5 separate regions of the Homo sapiens genome follow, and regions 2, 3, 4 and 5 are each linked to region 1. Evidence: promoter capture Hi-C in 16 types of primary human blood cells and fetal thymus (Javierre and others, 2016). All regions are on one chromosome and are shown on one strand. Each heading gives the region's core, a stretch centred on a gene start or on the middle of the fragment in contact. The rest is flanking DNA. Distances are from core to core; before and after follow the strand shown. Region 1 holds the start of OCRL (OCRL inositol polyphosphate-5-phosphatase). Region 2 overlaps SLC25A14 (solute carrier family 25 member 14). Region 3 has its middle 15 kb from the start of SLC25A14. Region 4 overlaps ZNF280C (zinc finger protein 280C). Region 5 overlaps ZNF280C (zinc finger protein 280C).

What was found. The method cuts DNA at HindIII sites, captures the fragments that hold promoters and counts their contacts. A CHiCAGO score of 5 or more calls a contact.
Region 2: a contact is called between a fragment that was not itself captured here and the fragment with the promoter of OCRL in region 1, in 4 of 17 cell types (neutrophils, activated CD4 T cells, monocytes and 1 more). The highest score is 7.9, in neutrophils.
Region 3: a fragment that was not itself captured here is called in contact with the fragment with the promoter of OCRL in region 1 in 3 of 17 cell types (activated CD4 T cells, M2 macrophages and M0 macrophages); the score reaches 8.3 in activated CD4 T cells.
Region 4: a contact is called between a fragment that was not itself captured here and the fragment with the promoter of OCRL in region 1, in 1 of 17 cell types (activated CD4 T cells). The highest score is 5.1, in activated CD4 T cells.
Region 5: a fragment that was not itself captured here is called in contact with the fragment with the promoter of OCRL in region 1 in 4 of 17 cell types (activated CD4 T cells, M1 macrophages, total B cells and 1 more); the score reaches 6.8 in activated CD4 T cells.

What each region holds. Positions count from the first base shown.
Region 1 is chrX:129,538,995-129,541,513 of GRCh38, forward strand. It overlaps OCRL (OCRL inositol polyphosphate-5-phosphatase), which reads left to right and starts at 1,265. Exons shown (of 24, transcript NM_000276.4): 1 at 1,265-1,484; 2 at 1,750-1,829. The coding sequence starts at 1,446. RefSeq lists an enhancer at 1,098-1,392 and silencers at 1,109-1,168, 1,279-1,478. The HindIII fragment of the contact is 8,325 bases long and covers 1-2,129 here.
Region 2 is chrX:130,355,683-130,358,201 of GRCh38, forward strand. The region is part of intron 6 of SLC25A14 (solute carrier family 25 member 14); the gene reads left to right. Among named protein-coding and RNA genes, the nearest start is that of SLC25A14, 17 kb to the left of the region's middle. The HindIII fragment of the contact is 3,436 bases long and covers 1-2,519 here.
Region 3 is chrX:130,323,606-130,326,124 of GRCh38, forward strand. No RefSeq gene overlaps it. Among named protein-coding and RNA genes, the nearest start is that of SLC25A14, 15 kb to the right of the region's middle. The HindIII fragment of the contact is 2,368 bases long and covers 79-2,446 here.
Region 4 is chrX:130,229,673-130,232,191 of GRCh38, forward strand. It overlaps ZNF280C (zinc finger protein 280C), which reads right to left. Exons shown (of 19, transcript NM_017666.5): 9 at 838-1,055. Among named protein-coding and RNA genes, the nearest start is that of ZNF280C, 38 kb to the right of the region's middle. The HindIII fragment of the contact is 1,135 bases long and covers 692-1,826 here.
Region 5 is chrX:130,209,552-130,212,070 of GRCh38, forward strand. It overlaps ZNF280C (zinc finger protein 280C), which reads right to left. Exons shown (of 19, transcript NM_017666.5): 16 at 102-164. Among named protein-coding and RNA genes, the nearest start is that of RAB33A, 39 kb to the left of the region's middle. The HindIII fragment of the contact is 157 bases long and covers 1,178-1,334 here.

The sequences.
Region 1 (2,519 bases), core at 15-2,514:
ATTACAGGCATGAGCCACTGTGCAGGCCAGTTTGTCTTTTAACTTGTTTATATTGTCTTAAAGTACATACATTTTGAAATTTCATGTAGCTAAATGTCTTATTCTCATTCCATATTCCAAGCTCATACTCAATTTTTTTTTCTGAAAGTTATAAAGTTTTGCTTTTCACATTTAGATCTTTAATCCACCTGGAACTGATTTTTCTTCCATGGTTTGAGGTAGGGGTCTAATTTTTATAATTTTCCATATGGATAAGCAGTAGTCCTAGTACCACTTAGTGGATAATCCATTCTTTCCCCACTGATTTGAAATGTCCCACACGCTGCATATCAACCTTCCGTATATGTGTGGTCTGTTTGAGGGGTTTATATTGTGTTTCATTGATTGTCTATCTCCACAGCATACTTTTAATTACTACAGATTTACAGTCACTCTTGATATCTAGTGTATTATAGATTCTGGAGCAAATGAATAACACGATCGAAAAATTACTTTGGGAAAAATATTTTTATGGCTGTCAACAGAGTAAACATGTCAAAGGAAAGAGTAAACCCAACAGGATTTATTTAAAGAAAAGTGCAATAACCCAGATAGGCTATCACAAGGGCTTACAATAAAGTTATGGCAGTGTGAATGGAGAGAAAATAAGGAATCTAAAAGTAATTCCACGTAAAATATTAACAGGGTGTGTTGACTGATTGGATATAGAGATGAGGAGGGGGAAGACGATATATGGCTTTCCAGTGAAATGATAATGAGTTAGTTTTGTGACGCAGTGATGTGTTAACAATGGACTCTATTAGGTAAGAGGTCTGGGCCAGGGATATATATTTGGACATTGTCTAGTTAGAGGTGAACTGGAGGGGACGCAGAGGAGGAGCAAAGGTCTGGGCTTTGGGGAATTCTCCGATTTAGGGCGTGGAAGAAAGAAGAGGAAAGGAAATGGTAGGATAACCAACACGGGACATTATAACCTTAAGAAATATATATATATATATATATGTATTTTTTTACTGAATGATGTGGGTCGTATTGACACAACAGGTTTGAGATCTCCCATAGGTATGACTGTGTTTTGTTTCTGTGGCCTTCAAAGTCCTCAGAACAATTTTGATGTCACAGGTGGCATTTAAAACCCATTCCTTGCTGGACCTGGTAGAGACGCCCCCAGTCCGTCAGGTCTCTCGCTGCAGTTCCGCAGTTTGACCGCAGGGGACGGAATCTGCGGCGGCCTGGAAAACTGGCGGGGGCGCGAGGCGCCGCTCTCTCTTGGGTCAGATTCTCAGCTCCCAGCTCCCCGCTCCCGGCTCCCGGCGCCCGGCGCCCGGCGCGGAGCTGTTCCTCAAACGACACGCAGCCGAGGTGGGTGGGTGTGGGGACGCGGGAGCCAGTGTCGTCGGATCGGCCCGCAGTCCGCTGTCCTGCTGAGCCCGGAGGCCGCCTGGATGGAGCCGCCGCTCCCGGTCGGAGCCCAGCCGCTTGCCGTATCCGCCGGAGAGAAGGGAGAGGGGAGGCCGCGCAGGGCCGGGGGTGGGGGTCGGGGGCCCTGCGGAACACGGTGGGGCGGGGCAACCGGGTGGCCCAGAGGCCGAGCAGAGAGGGGGAGGGGGCCGGCGCGGGAGACGAAGCAGGGCGGGGCGGGGCGGGGGAGGGCGGCGGTGGGGGGGGGGTGGAAGACCCCCTTCGCCCCGCAGTGCACCACTCCTCCCCACCGCGCTTCCGAAGGAGACCCTTGACTAGCGCCCGCATACTGTCGAGGGTATGGAGATGAAGGGTCCTCTCCGGGAGCCCTGCGCCCTGACCCTAGCCCAGAGGAACGGGCAATATGAGTAAGTAACCACCTGATTCCCACAGAGGAGGGGAGCCTGCCATTACCTCCCAACCCCAAACCGCGACGGGTCACCCACTGTCCTCCTACTGAAGCCACGCGGGCAACAGGTTCAGGTCCAGGTGTGAAGTGCCAGTGCTCTCTAACCTCGGGGCTTTGTCCCCAACTTCCAAGCCTCTGGATTGTGCTTGGCAGTGTGGCTCAGTGGAAGGACTGAATGGGCGGGGAAGCAGGAAGCCTGGGTTCTTAGTTCCTGCCCCTGCAACTGACATGTGTTGTGTAACGTTGGGCAAGTCAATAAAGCTTTCTGGGCCAAAGTTAACTCTTCAGTTTAATAAAACCATTAACTGCCTTACCTTACAGCCTTTGGAATTATAACTGGGGGAAAAATAAATGCGAGAGTGGCTTCCAAAAAGTAAAAGTGCTATGGAAATGCTTCATTGTTAACGTTACAGACTTGTCTTAACCCTATTCAGCTGGTTTCTCCAGTCTCCCCGTCCCCTTATCCCACTGGGTTGAAGGCATATTCATTAATTCAGTAATGGTTTAGTGTAGGCCAGAAACTGCCTCACTTACTGACTTTACTGTTAGAAAGAAAAGGTAATGAAATGTGTAGAGATAGAAATGACAGTATTTTATCAGTGTGTCACCTTCCTCTCTGCCATAGGAGCTCCGTAAATACTGTTGACTG
Region 2 (2,519 bases), core at 11-2,510, 820 kb after region 1:
TTACAGTTGATTTGTTTAACTTGGGTTCCAAAGCCTATGCATTATATTTAATAGTTATGTTTCTTAAGTCCTTTTTATTCTAGAGTACCCCACTCCTGTCCATATACCTTTTATTTATTTATTTATTTATTTGCTTTTTGCCATTAACTTGTCAAATAAATGGGATCAGCTCTCCTTTAGAATTCCCAAGTTTTGGATTTGTCTTTTTGCTTCCTTGTGATATCATTTAACTTATTTCTCTAAATCTTCTCTCTCTGTAAAAGGGAAGGTTTCTGTAAAGGTCATACCGAGTCATGTGAGGAGGCACACAGTGTTTGGTTGTCCCAATATAGGGATGTTAAGGTTGATCAGTGGGTTCAGGCGTGACAGCCCGATTTCTCCTTTGTAGTTTCCTGTCAATCCTTCATCTAATGGTTTCATCCATTGGTGGCCATTACCTGAATTGATTGTTTCATTTAAGGTCGCAAAGTGGTGATTTTCTAATTCCATCATTCCATCCATGTTTCTTAGCTAGAATTCTTCTGCAAGGGCAATCTTTTTTTTTTTTTTTTTTTTTTTTTTTGAGATGGAGTCTCGCTCTGTTGCCCAGGCTGGAGTGCAATGGCATGATCTCGGCTCACTGCAACCTCCACTTCCTGGGTTCAAGCAATTCTCCTGCCTCAGCCTCTCGAGTAGCTGGGATTACACAGGTGCACACCACCACGCCTGGCTAATTTTTGTATTTTTAGTAGAGACGGGGTTTCGCCATGTTGGCCAGGCTGGTTTCAAACTACTGACCTCAGGTGATCCGCCCACCTCGGCCTCCCAAAGTGCTGGGATTACAGGCGTGAGCCACTGCGCCTGGCCAAGGACAACTTTTTCTCATTTAGTGGGGCTGTTTGGCTGTTCTGAAATATAGGCAATTTCCTTTTAAGCAAGACACTGGGAAGTTTCAACCATTATTTCTGTTCACGTTCCATTCTGAAGGACTTGGTTCCATGGCTACATCTAGCTTCAAGAAAGGAGAGTAGATTTTGGGAGACAATAATCTACCACACTACCCAGACCTACTGGGTCATCTAAACTAGAAACCTAGATCATCTTTGATTCTTCTATATCTTTGCTTCCTTCTAGTATTGGATTAGGTATCAAGTTTCTACAGATTTTGCCTCATCTGTATTTCTCAACTTTGTCCTTTCCCCACCATTCCTTTTGTAGGACCTCATCTCAGTAGCCTCCTAACTTGTCCCTTCACTCTAGTGTGTACCCCACTCCCTCAACCCATCTCCAGATGAAGCTGGAGAGATCTATCGAAATCCATATCTGATCTACTATGTACTGCTTCTTTGCCTTTGTGCACGTAACACTTTCTTCCTGAAACGTCTTTCTCATTTTCCTGGTGAATTTGTCCTTCAAGACCAGGCTCATAAACAGGGCCAGGACTAGGGCAAAACAAGTAAGGCAGTCCCCTTTGATGCAGAATGTAAGAAGGTGCCACAAAACTCAGTAATCAATATAAACAACATTTGTATGTAGTATTTTTAAACAATCAAAATTAACGCAAAAAATTCATGATGAACCAAATACCAAAATTTCACATAACTCATCTCATTCACCTTACCCTAATCCTGGCCCTGTTGAGTCCTAGCTTTAGTTAAATTTGATATTTGATTCATTATGGCTTTTTGTGGATTAATTTTGGTTAAAAAATATCATATTGAGACATCATTTATCTTGATTACTGAGTTTTTCTTGCACTCCCTTACATTTCATGCCTAAGAAAAGTACTTCACTTGCCTCACGCTAGCCCCTCTGTTGTCAGGAATCACCTCCTTAAAGAAGTGTTCTACTTACCACAGTGTATTAGTAGTTTTCATTTGTCTTTGTGATAGGTTGTATCTTGATTTAATGGGTTTAGGTTTTTATAATTATAATATTTGAAAACTCTTAGTAGTAACAGTTAACTTTCTGCATAAAAGCATGTTGCCATTACATGACTTACTAAAGACATTTGTTGAAACCTAGAATGGTAGCATGGTGCTTCATAAAAATCAGGCCTACATTTGGGCCGCTAGTATTTAGTGACTGACTACTAGGATTGTATGTGTGCAGAGTCTGTGGGAAATTGTACCAAACCTTTTACATGGCCATTTAATGCTATCTTTCCTTCTTGCAGCTCTCAAAGGCCACTTGGCAGAATATAATATTATGCTTTTTATAAATAGAACTCAACTTAAGGTCTCATAAACATAAAATTATATTTTAAAACACATTTTTCATTTTTATAATTACGTAAGCAATGCATGTTTAATGTAGAAAAATATGGAAGGCAGAAAAAACACAAAAGAGAAAAATGCTTACTTGTAGCCTCACCACTCAGACATAAACCACTGTAAGTATTTAGTTTTATATGTTCACCTCGTCTCTTTGCTGTGCTTATGGATATTTTTAAGTTTACATGTTTTTTATAAAAATGATATAGTACTTCGCAATTTTTTTTCTGGTTAGCAATTAATTTTTGATATCTTTCAGTGTCAGCA
Region 3 (2,519 bases), core at 13-2,512, 780 kb after region 1:
TAAATTTTAAAAAGTTAGCTTCATTTGTAATGTACTTTTGTTTTCATATATTCTAACATTTTTATTTTGAGAATAGCAAGCTTGAAATTATTTCTCTCAACATATTGAACTGATACTTAAACCCATATATATCCAGTGCTGTCTAACTGCAATAATGATTTTAAAGTGGTTAGTATGTAATAATGTGCTGATTTTTTTTGCACGAAACACAGCATATTCTTGGTGTGTAGTATAGGCAATTATTTAGTGATTATGCAATTATATACCAGTTGTCTTGAACCAAAAATCTTTCTGCACTTATGATAATGCTACATCTCATTGTGTTTACTTTCCTGTTTCCTCGTCGTGCATATATTATTTTTAATTTCTCACCAACCATGACTTCCTCCCTTAGATAATATTTCGTCTCTTCCTAACTTGGAGTCTTGTACTCTAACTTTTGGATGTCTGTACTCTTGTTCTTGGGCTGTTGTATTAGTCCTCTCTCATGCTGCTAATAATGGTCTCACGCTGCTAATAAAGACATACCTGAGACTGGGTAAATTATAAAGGAAAGAGGTTTAATTTATTCACAATTTAGCATGGCTGAGGAAGCCTCAGGAAACTTACAATCATGACAGAAGGGGAAGGAAACACGTTCTTCTTCACATGGCGGCAGCAAAGAGAAGTGCTGAGCAAAAGCTGGGAAAGCCCCTTATAAAACCGTTAGATCTTGTGAGAACTCGCTCACTATCATGAGAACAGCAGCATGGGGGTAACTGCCCCCATGATTCAATCACCTCCCACCAGGTCCCTCCCATGACACATGGGGATTATGGGAACTACAATTCAATATGAAATTTGGGTGGAGACACAGCCAAACCATATCAGCTGTTCACATGGGAATCCTCTCCACCTTTATATTTTATTCGTAAAACATTTACTGAAATTCCACTATATTCTAGTCACTGGCACTAACTGGGCAAAAGAAAAATGATCCATTATCATTCCCTGGGCAGAAGGAGTGCTCAGTCTCATGAAAAAGACAGATTATTGTACTATAGGATAATTAACACTATAATAGGGATGGCCCAAAACGTAGTAGAGGCACAGAAGTAGAAGCAACACTTGCTTATGAAACCTTCAAGGCATATTCCATGCCACTGAAAATGATAATCTATTGTGTAATACAAAAAGCAGAGGATTTATGGTTGGAGACATCTCCCATTTCTCTCAAGTGAATTACTCTCTCTAGGCATTAGATTTCTCATATTTAGAGCAAAAGTCTTGAACAAGATCGTGGTTTTGAAATTGTTTCATAGACTATTACTAATATGCAAATAAAGAGCTTCATGGACAAATATACTTGTGTATTACTGGGTTAAACAAAATTAAATTTATTTGTTGTTGGATTTCTGAGTTTTAATAGGTTATTGCAAATTATAAACATTTACAAAAGGAATATACTTCTTCATATATTTTTTACACCATGGAATTCTTCTATATCAGTTAGGAATTTAGTTTGCTACATAACAGTCTCAAGAAATAGTTTTTAAACTCTTAACCTTTAGGTCTATGCTTCATTGAGATTTTATTTTTTATATGGCATAAAATACGGGTCTAAGTTGTGTTTTTATTGCATGAGATTATTCAGAATTTTTTATATTTATTTATTTTTTTAGAGATAAGGGTCTCTCTATGTTGCCCAGGCTGGCCTCAAATTCCTGAGCAATCCTCCCACCTCAGCCTCCCAAGTAGCTGGGACTACAGGTGTATGTCAACGTGCCTGACAAGGTTATTGAATTTTGACAGCATTATTTGTTGAAAATGTTTTTTCTCTCATTGAATTGCCTTGTCATCTCAGTTGAAAATAAGTTCACCTTATTTGTGGGTCAGTTTCTGGACCCTTTATCCTACTCCATTGATCTATGTATTTCTCCTTCTGTCAATGCTACTCTGTCTTAATTACCTTTATAATAAATCTTGAATCAAGTAGTGTAATTCTTTTAACTTTGTCATTCTTTTTCAAAATTTTTTTGTGTATTTCAGATCCTTTGCATATCAGTTAAGAATTTTAGAATCCGCTTGTGAGTTTTATAGGGAAGTTTCCTGGGATTTTGGTTGGTATTGTGTTGAATCTATTGATCAGTTTGAGAAGAATTGACATTTTCATACTATTGAGTCTTCCAAACCGTGAGTATAGTATATCTTCCTATTTAAGTTTTCTTTAATTTCTCTTAGTAATCTTTTATAGTTTTCAATGTGCAGATCTTGCACATTTTGCGTCACATTTATCCCTAAATATTCTATATGTCTGATGCTGTTTTAAATATTTTTAAAATTTAAAATGTCCAGTTATTCACGGCTAATATATAAAAGTACAATTGATTCTTGTGTATTGACTTTATATTCTGTGACCTTACTAAGCCCACTTATTAGTTGTAGATTATTTATACAACATTCTAGAAGCTTTTCTGTTTGGACAACATGTTATCCATGAATAATGAGAGTTTATTGTTTTCCCTTTCCAATCTGAATGC
Region 4 (2,519 bases), core at 9-2,508, 690 kb after region 1:
TAATTATACTGGCTTACTGTTAGCACAAACTATTCATTTTTCTTAGCAGGCTGTGCCCTTTGTAGCACTGTCTATTTTTCAGTTTTACCTTCTGCTATTTTAGCTTCTCTGAAAGGCTTCTGAAGAGAAGGAACTATGATGTTCAATGGCAGAGAGTACAATATAAATGGACATACCATTTTCAAAGGGCTTACTAAAACTTTTTGCTGAATTTCAAAGTAAAGTTATTCAATGTAAACAACAGTTTTAAGACTGGGTCAACTACTTACAATTATTATGAATCACTAAAGAAAATAATCTTGAAACAAAGTGATAATGTCATCAACCTACATAGCAATCATTGTGAAGGTTTGGGTTTTTATCTTTTTTCACACCTCCAAAACACTTCTCTTTGGTTTTGGTAAACGCCTGCAATTTATTTTAAAATGGAAAAATTTGAGCTTTAAATAAGGTTAGTATGGAGGAGGTCATGCTGCATAGGGTTCTTCTTGTGACATGAAGAAAAGTAAGATTCAAAGTCAGCTAGAAAATATAAGTTTTTCATGAAACCGTCTAGTTCAGTAATAAATGTAGGGAAAATAAGTAGTTTTCCCCTAAATTAAAATACATTTTGTCTTTTCTTAAGCTATCTGAAAACAAAACAACTAGGTGGATCCTGGAGTCAAACTCTTAAAATACAAGAAGGAACAAAAGCTTTTCAACATGATAATCTGCCACTGTTCTTAGTAGAAAGTATTAGAATTAATTACCGAGGATGGCAGAGCAATGTAAAGATACTATATTCTTATCTGTCATATCCCAACTTTCAAACAGAAATAAAAATAAATATTTACATACCTAATATTATTTTTAAGAACTTTCGAGCAACTGAAGCATTTAAAGGTTGTGTAAGTCTTTGGCTCTTTCTCAGTGACTCCTTCATGCCTTCCATAATAAAACTCATTGACTAACATGATCAACTTTCCTGTCTCTGAATCAGTCTTGTCTTCATCACATGGACGTTCTGATTTAACAATTACTCCCAAAAATTTAGTTATCATGTCTGGACAACAATGCTGAAAGAGGAAAAAAATATGAGCCTTGTCTACAGCTCTTTTAAAGATTAGATACCAAAAAATGATTGTGTTTACATCTAAGGTCAGATGATATAAAACTACGCTTGGCAATGTATCTAGAAAGATACTGACCAAAATTGTGGCTTCCATTTTTACATATTCTAAAAAAATTCAAACAATAAACACCTACTATCTTAATAAAGGAATAACTTCAAAAACAATATTGAAAACCTTAAGATCAGGGGATGTTTATGTATCTAATATTTTTTCCTTGCAATTTTTCTTTTTAGATGTAAATATTTAATAATAATATTTTTCTTGGCCCAAAATCACCCATTTCATATCTGTGTCAAGATACAGCTTACATGCTTATACACCACTGGTAGGAATGTAAATTAGTTGAGCCACTGTAGAAACAGTTTGGAGATTCTCAAAGAACTAAAAATGGAACTACCATTTGACCCAGCAATCTCATCACTGGGTATATACTCACTGGAAAATTAATCGTTCTACCAAAAAGACACCTACACTTGTATGTTCATTGCAGCACTATTCACAATAGCGAAGACATGGAATCAACCTAGGTGCCCATCAACAGTGGACTGGATAAAGAAAATGTGGTACACATACACTATGGAATACTACACAGCCATAAAAAAGAATGAAATAACGTCCTTTGCAGCAACATGGATGCAGCTGGAGGCGATTATCCTAAATGAATTAACACAGAAACAAAAAACTAAATATCTTATGTTCTCACTTATAAGTGGAAGCTTGTAAGTGGAAGCTAAACATTGGGTATACACAGACATAAAGATGGAAACTACACTGAGGTCTCCAAAAGTTGGGAGGGAGGGAGGAAGGCAGGGGCTGAAAAACTTCCTATTGGGTACTATGTTCACTATTTGGGTGACAGGATCAGTAGAAGTCCAAACCTCAGCATCATGCAATATACCCTTGTTAACAAACTTGCACATGTACCCCTGAATCTACAATAATTAAAAAAAAAATAGCTTAGGCTGGGTGTGGTGGCTCATGCCTATAATCCCAGCACTTTGGGAGGCTGAGGCAGGCGGATCACGAGGTCAGGAGTTCGAGACCAGCCTGGCCAATATGGTGAAACCCCGTCTCTATTAAAAATACAAAAAAATTAGCCGGGCGTGGTGGCACGTGTCTGTAGTCCCAGCTACTCAGGAGGCTGAGGCAGAAGAATTGCTTGAACCCGTAAGGCGGAGGTTGAAGTGAGCTGAGGTCGCGCCACTGCACTCCAGCCCGGGTGACAGAGCAAGACTCCGTCTCAAAAAAAAAAAAAAGCTTAAAAGGTAGTTTTACATGCCATTATGTATAAGCTTGATTATCAAATAACACAGTAATATTTAAGTGAAGCCTGGTTGGAACTAGACTTTGAGCACAGCTAACCTGCCATTCTCCAGACTTACCATGCTAGAAAATGTGTGGGACACA
Region 5 (2,519 bases), core at 6-2,505, 670 kb after region 1:
AAACAGAACTCTATCATTTCCAAAGCAGGCACTCCAACATCAAGTTTTAAAAAGTTACTGCAATATTTCAATTGAAAGAAAAAAAAAAGATCAATGATTACCTGAGAGTTCCTGAATGCTTCTTGAAAATACAAAACCGTTTACCTGGATGGTTGCTATGAGAGCTGGAGAAACACGAGACAAACAAGATTTTATTAATTTTATTATACAACACCATATTAATTTTCTGACCACATTTCAAGCCAATGCTTAATTTCTTAGTTTTGAATAAAAGATCATGATCTAAATAATAAAATTCTGTTGGTTAAAGCTATAATCTGAATTTCTGTGTCACCCCAAAATTCATGTTAAAATCTTAACCCCCAAAGTGATGGCATTAAGAGGTGGGGCCTTTGGGAGGTGATTAGGTCATGAGGGCAGAGCCCTTATGAGATTAGTGCACTTATAAAAGAGATCCTAGAGAGCCAGTGTGCCCCTTCCACCATGTGAGGACGCAGTGAGAAGGTGCTGTCTATGAGGAATGGGCCCTCACCCAGACACCGAATCTGCCGGCACCTTGATCGTGGACTTTCCAGCCTCCAGAACTGTGAGAAATAAATTTCTGTTGTTTATAAGCTACCCAGTCTATGGTATTTTGTTATAGCAGCCTGAATGGACGAAGACAGTCATCTCTGTTTAATTCAAGAATTTTAACTTACATTCCACTTTACCTTTATATTTTCTAATGACATATTTCCCTGAGAATTTTCTTAGATGATCAGTACCTCACCATTACTAAAAACAATGCTTGAGTTAAAAATGCAGTGTCAAATTAAAGTTTTTTAACTATTAAGAGAACAATTTAAAGGATATTTGATAATGTATTTTGCTATGATAGAAATTGTTATAATAATTATTATTTTTTGTTTCAGACAGTCTTGCTCTGTCACCCAGGCTGGAAAATAATAATTACTTATTACATTTTAATCTTAATATGTTTGGGGAGGGGGATAATCTGAATGATCCTGGAAGTAAACACTACTTGAGATAAAGGCCATTGCTTAATTCAATAAACATGAAACATTTAAAGAGTCCTTTGCAATTACCAGGAGAACTTTCAAAGAGAGCAAATTAAGGAGCAGAGCTCATGAATTAAAACAATGCTTCTCCTACACACAGATCAGAAAACCACTAATCAAGCTTCACAGCCAATGGTAATAGCTTTTATGCCTCCCTTTAAAATGATAAGGAAAGCCTTCCTGTGTTAGACAACCAGGCAAGATTAGCCAGGATTAGCCTAGCACAGTATTACTCAAAGTGTGGTCCATGGACCAGCATCATCAGCATCACCTAGAAGCTTGTTAGAAACACAAAGTTTCAGGCCTTACTGCAAACATAGTGAACTAATCTCTGGCAGTGGGGCCCAGAAATCTGTTTTCCCAAGTTTTCCAGCTGATTCTTATGCAAGCTAGTTTGAGAAGCACTAGCCCTATCTTGCACTGACAGACCCAACACAGCAGGTCAACAGTTACCCTCAGACACAAGGTAACCATCACCAGCTTACTATATATGCATGGGAAAATAAAGATTCTGGCTAGCTGTAATTCCAAGAAAACATCCTCAGAATAGGCACCATGGTGAATACAACGAAAGAGCTTCTTTCTCAAAGAGGTAATAGAGACACATGTGAGGCAGAAGAGCAGAATGTTACGGAACTCAAAGAAAGGAATGATTCTTGTGACTGGCTGTGCTGATCAGATACTTCACAGAGGGTGAAACGAGAGGAAGGAGAGGGGCATTTCAGAGAATAATCAAGAATAAGAAAAACTACTTTAGATACTGAATATGAAGAGCCTATACATTGGGGAAGATAGATCAATTTTGAGGGCCTGTCTTCTCATAAGAGTTGGCATAGCCTGGGAATAAAGGTACTCAACCTCTGAGAAAATGAAGCCTCTGAACATACAGAACTCAAACCTATGACAAAAGTCCACACCGAGTAGGAGTGAGGGTGCACCATTCAGAGGAAGGTACCTGAAGCAATGAGGGAAACAGTGTACCCTTGAAGTAGGGGAAAAGCAAAGGGACCTACGAGGCCCTCAGAAGAGTAGAAGTGGAAGCTTTCAGTTCTAGATGAGGTTAATGATGAGTAAGAGCTCAATGTGTGTGATGACAGTGCAGGGGCTCACCAGAAATTAGGAAAATGTTATGAAGGTAACTTTAGGTCAATTGGGAATGTCTGGGGATAGAATGGGGCTGAAGGTTCTACAAGACAGTTGGTGAGCCTATGGAAAATGGGAGAGGGGAGGACGGAATGACACATGGGTTTAAGTAATGCCAAAAATATTTTCCAATTTAATCCTCTATAAATTAGTGGCAGAATTAAAGCCTCACTAGGGCAGCCAAGTGTTTAGCACAGAATAAGAGAACAATATTAATCACAGCAGTGTACTGGGGGAAGGGTTGGCTAGGGTCTGCTTTAGAGAAACTGGGGTATAGGTGCAGAACCACTGTAGTAGTGGAAGAGGCAGACTGGTAAA